2 separate regions of the Homo sapiens genome follow, and region 2 is linked to region 1. The links are contacts of gene promoters, found by promoter capture Hi-C in blood cells and fetal thymus (Javierre and others, 2016). All regions are on one chromosome and are shown on one strand. The core of a region is centred on a gene start or on the middle of the fragment in contact, and the rest is flanking DNA. Distances in the headings are between cores, read along the strand shown. Region 1 holds the start of TTC23 (tetratricopeptide repeat domain 23). Region 2 holds the start of SPATA41 (spermatogenesis associated 41).

Evidence for each region. The method cuts DNA at HindIII sites, captures the fragments that hold promoters and counts their contacts. A CHiCAGO score of 5 or more calls a contact.
Region 2: the fragment with the promoter of SPATA41 here is called in contact with the fragment with the promoter of TTC23 in region 1 in 3 of 17 cell types (naive CD8 T cells, activated CD4 T cells and fetal thymus); the score reaches 9.0 in naive CD8 T cells.

The regions. Positions count from the first base shown.
Region 1 is chr15:99,248,027-99,250,830 of GRCh38, reverse strand. TTC23 (tetratricopeptide repeat domain 23) reads left to right here and starts at 1,250. Exons shown (of 14, transcript NM_001288615.3): 1 at 1,250-1,660. The HindIII fragment of the contact is 13,098 bases long and covers 1-2,804 here.
Region 2 is chr15:100,349,416-100,352,115 of GRCh38, reverse strand. It overlaps SPATA41 (spermatogenesis associated 41), which reads left to right and starts at 1,398. Exons shown (of 2, transcript NR_028139.1): 1 at 1,398-2,700. LOC105371021 (a long non-coding RNA gene) reads right to left here and starts at 2,510. Exons shown (of 3, transcript XR_007064777.1): 1 at 2,434-2,510; 2 at 1,171-1,741; 3 at 1-437. RefSeq lists an enhancer at 1,971-2,230. The HindIII fragment of the contact is 2,620 bases long and covers 1,078-2,700 here.

The sequences.
Region 1 (2,804 bases), core at 1-2,500:
AAGATGAGGAGGACGTAACCTAGTCTCTGCCCTTCAAACACCCAAGGTTTATTTTGAGTAAAGATTGCTAAAAAGGTCAGGAACAATTTAGAGAGTTAAATACAATGACACTTCCTAGCCTGACTGAGTAGGCCGTCAATATGTATTTCTTCAAGACGAAAATTATTATGTCAGCGAAATAGCATGAAAGAGGGCTTTATGCTGTTAAAAATACTTGGAAGCATAGTTCGGAAACATTTTTAAAAGACACTTTTTAAAGTGTCTCATTAATATGACAAATTTCCTTCTGAAATGAAGATTTTAAAGTATAATCCTCTACTACAACCGCTGATATTTTTTGTTCTGTGGAAAGCCTGTCTATGAGTTTGCGAGGCTCCTTGTCAAGGAACTTTAACTTTATAATGAAGTAGTTTTTACAGTTGCTGACTTAATTATTCATAGAGACGAATAACCTAGAAAGCAGAGTTATATTAAATAAAAAACATTGGTTTTAAAACAAGGTATGAGTTATAATAAAAATTATCAGTTATCTATTAAATCTGGTCTTCAAGAGCTATTCAGGTATACAGCATGGTTGGTATATGTCATGTATTTCTAAGATAGTTTCGGAATACCTAAGAATTCGTGGCACTCAGAAATTTTTTGCTGGTCTTAAAATGAGGAAATCCACATTTTGTGTAAAAACAAAGATACGGTGTTTAATGGTCAGCCCAAATAATAAGACTTGCTGCTAATATATGAAGAGTTACACCCCCCAAAAAAGAAAAAAGATTAACAGTAGAACAGTTTTTTGAAAACAATGTTAGCCTCTTAGTTTTCATTTCTTTTTTTTAATGGGGAATACTGTTTTTCAGTGATTAATATCTGATATTTGATCATGAAAAATGAATCATGTTAAAATAACCTTCACCTCCTCCCCACATTGACACAAAAGTTACCAAGTGATTATATTTGATAATACTTTATGACCCCACTCTTGAAGTTCTCACAATTTGTAGAGAATCAATTCGCACGTTTTGTCTCTCTTAAAGGGGAAAAAAATCCTCTAAGCTGGTGATTTCACGTTCTTTGACAAACTTCAATATCAACAGGCAACGATACCACTTTAAGAAAATTCCAAGGAAAAGACCTCATTTTAAAATTCCCACCTCTGGCTCCCAAAGATTGGTTTGCAAACTTCGACAAAATACTCTTCTCCACTCGCTATTGGTGAGTGCTCTATCATTCATTCTTTTGCCTGGAGTTTTGTGAGGTACCCGCTTGCTTTATGGGAAAAGGCTGCTCCGGAACTGCCCTACTTTAGACTTTTTCATGGTTATCAATCTGTACAAAGAATCACCAAACTGATAAAGCAGGAACCAGAGGGCAAATCACGCTGCCAAGACAACTGTGTAATTCGCTCGAAAAAGAAACGGTGAGCCTCTCCAGCAGACTGGGTAAACTGGCAAGGGATTTTACGACATAGTTGGAGATTGGAGAGTTACAGAAACTTTTCCGGTTTTTTACAAGTTTTAAAGGAGTGATTGAGTGTCAAAGGAAAAGCAGAGAAAATACAGGCACAATTTAAAGACAGCAGGAAGAAGAGTGTTCAGAGAGCATTTTTCTCTTTAGGGTGAAGTTTGAAAGCATCATGCCCAGATTATCAGTGGATTTTTGAAAGGTAAAGGAGGCAAGATAATAAGATTAACTATAGATCATTTTCTACTTTAAGAAACTGTGCTTCGTTATTGTTGCTTAAGTGTGGATTTAGAAGGACATTTAGTAATATTGTAATTTTTATATGGATATTTTTGTTTATATATTGTCATACCTGGCATAATAGATAATATATCTATTAAAAGATATAGGAGAAAATAGAGTTGCTTGAACCCAAATTTTGTGTATATTTGTGGATTAGGGATTCCAGGGACAGATCTGCTAATGGCTGAACAAAACATACTACAGATACCTGAAGCAGAATCAGCATGTAAGGGTAAATTCTCAAAAAAATCCAGCAATCATATTTCAAAAATGACATTTTTAATTAAAACAAATACAAAAGAATTTATCAAGGAAACGTTGATGAACATGACTATTTCTTAAGTTGCCTGTGTTAATCCATATAGGGGAATATAAAGTAATAAAATCCAGCCCCTCAAGAGCAGGGACAAATGAGGCTCAGAACATTTAAACTAAAACTTCTGAACAGTTCTTAATGCCCGGATGACTGTTGTAGAGCACAGGTGCTTCAGGAGCTCAGCTCAATGTGAGATGAATTATTCAGAGAAGGCTTCACAGTATGGGTAAGACTCAATTTGGGCCTGAGCAATGGGCAGAATTTCAGAGAGAAAAATAAGGGAAGTGGCATCCCTACTAGTGAGTGAGTTGTTAGCAAATACATGCAGCCTGAGGAAGAGTTGGTTCTGACTGCGGCAGAAGGTTCATTTGGAAACTTTGGTTACAAATTTTAAAAAGCAGCATGAGAAATATAAAGAGCCGGAATTCCCAAAATCAGGGGTTTGGGTCCTGTGTTTGGAACAGGAGGCACCCCTTATGAAAGTAATATTTGAAGACAATAAAACTGACAGTGGAATTTAAGATGGCTAGACCAGAGCAGAGACCAGAAGCTAAGGGGCCCCATGCTGTGTAAATACTGGCACACAGGTTAGTAACCATGCTTCTTACCCGAATACATTTACCTTATCATTGTTGAATAATATAAATTTTGATGCACTTCTTTGTAGTCTTCGAAAGCATTGAGTTTACTTCTTTAAGATTTTTGGGGACCGCTGCCACACTGTCTTGGGGAGTCATGGTTGCCCCGT
Region 2 (2,700 bases), core at 149-2,648, 1.1 Mb before region 1:
ATTTTCTCTTGTTTTTTTAACGGTCTGGAATTCAGCCAGGGTGGACACAGTGGGAAGGGCTTGTCTCTACTCATGGTGTTTGGGGCAGACTCAAAGGCTGGGGGCTGAAATCATCGGAAGGCCTGACTGAGGGTAGAGGATCTGCTTCCAAAATGACTCACTCACATGACAAATTAGTTGGTTCTGGCAAGTTGGCCTCCTTTCCAAGAAGTGCCTCTCCACACATGTGCTTCTCTGCAGGGTTGCTTGAGTGTCCTCATGACATGGCTGGTGGTTCCCAAAAAAGCAAGTGATCCAAGAGCAACATTCAGGAATAAGTTCAATCCTTTCTATGACCTAGCCTCAGAACTCACAAAGCATCACTCTCAATACGCCCTATTCATCAGAAGCCAGGCAGTAATTCCAGCACACTTTCTAGGCAGAGGAATTAGGTACACCTGTTGAAGGGAAGCAGGTCATAATTAGAGGATATATTTTTGAACCACCACAGAATCTAACTTAGGTTCGTACAAATATATAAACAGCTGTCCAATACCACATATTGAATAGTCTATCATTACTATATCAGTCTGAGCCATGACTATTTGCATTTACTAAGAATGTGTGTTATTACCATTGAAGACCTTCCAGTGGGACAAGATGTGAAAGCAGAAGACAGTGGTATTGATGATCCTGACCCTGTATAGGCCTAGGCTAATGTGTGTTTGTGTCTTAATATTTGACAAAAAGTTTAAAATGTAAAAAATAAACAACTTCAAAAGTAGGAAAAAAGCTTATAGAATAAGGATATGAAGAATGAAAATATTTTTGTATAGCTGTACAATGTGTTTGTGTATTCAAGCTGTTATTAAAAGAGTCAAAAAATTTAAAAATTCTTAAGGTAGAAAAGTTACAGTAAGCTAAAGTGAATATATTATTGAAGGAAAGAAAATTTTTAAAAATAAATTGAGTGTGGGCCTAGTGTACAGGGTTTTAAAGTCTACAGTAGTGTACAGTAATGTCCTAGGCCTTCGTATTTACTCACCACTCACTTACTGACTCACCCAGAGCAACTTTCAGTCCCGTAAGCTCCAAGCTTACGGTAGGTGCCCTAGGCAGGTGCACCAGTTTCAATCTTTCATACCATATTTTTACTGTATCTTTTCTATGTTTAGATACACAAATACTTACCATTGTGTTACAGTTGCCTACAGTGTTCAGTACCACACTGTACAGGTTTGTAGTCTAGAAGCACAGCCTACAGCCTGGGTGTGTAGTAGGCTGTGCTGTTTAGGTTTGGGTAAGTACACTCTATATTGTTTGCACAATGATGCAATTGCCTGACGATGCATTTCTCAGAACGTCTGCTCACTGTTACGCAACGGAGGACTGTGAATTGGGAGTTTATTTTGTTTTTCAGTCTGTACTGGCAGCGAATCATACATAGCTTAGTTTATCAGACAAGCTGCTTTTCTTGAGCAAAGAAAGAACTAGGAGAGAAACGGGGCTTTGGAACCCTGATGCGGCAATGCTGAAAGAGGAGAAATATCCCAAGGAAGGGAAAGGTGTGTTGCAGAACGATGAAAAATAGGCGGCTTCTCACAGCTGTTCTCAGGGGACGAGACGGGGTGGGATGCAGCTCCGCCGGTGCCTAACACTAAGGGCCCTCATCCTGCCGATTCAGTTGTGTCGGGACCGCCAGTGCTGTCTCCTCGTCAGATGCTGCTTCTGGTCTCCCCGCAGAAGATGCCACTGGAGTTGCCTTTTCAAGGATGGGGACATTTGAAGGCCCTGGACGCTCAGCTCTGAGGCTGGCTGGGATCTCACTAGCACCCCCTGGTGGAGGCCGGAGCCAGGCTGACGCGGGAAAGTGGGGCACGGAAGCGCTGCGGATTGGACCGGCGGCAGCTAGGCCGAAACGCCTGTATTTAAAGGGATAGTAACTCGGACTCGTTCTGCAATATCCCCACAAGGGCCTGACTGAGCGAGCGAGCATGGACGGCCGCGGGGCTTTCTGGACAGTGGCCATTCCCAGAGCCAGGCAGGAAGGCCTCGGGAGGCTGGGGCTCCCGTTCCCGGTGAAGCGGACGCCGCCAGCGCCCCAGAACCCAGGAGGAAGCACACAGGCCCCACAGAGAGTGGTTGGCAAGAGTCACTCGGGGATTAGGATGCCGGCCAAATCGCGGAATTTGAGGCTGGAATCCAAGCTCAACAGGAAAGTAGTGAAATACAAATGGGGAAAACAGGGCTCTGGAGCGGGGAGGGAGCTGGTGCCGGCATTTCCCACCAACGCCGGTTTAGGAAGACGGGACCGATGCCGGCCGCCCCCTGCTGGAGGGGATGTGGCATCTCACGGGCTGCCAGGGAGCGGGGTTGGCTACTCCTGCAACCAGCGTGAAGAGGGTCTCAGGGGAGGCTGTGGTGGGATCCCCCACGTGCCCTTGTTCCTCTCACCGTTACCTCTGGATGCCTCGGGGCAAAGGCCTTCTTCCACCTATAGACAGAGTCTACGCAGGGGTCTTGGAACCCGGGCACACCAGTCCCCAGCTAACGAAATCCCCGAGTTGGGGGATTTGAGAGGGTCACGTTTGGCCCAAGAACCCGCAGTCCTCTTTGGTCTTCGGCCCTCTATTTCTAAGCGTGGGCTTCTGGCACGGCGGCTCTGGGCACAGCCCATGCTGCTTTCGGGCTGGGTGGTTTCAACGACGACAACAATTATCA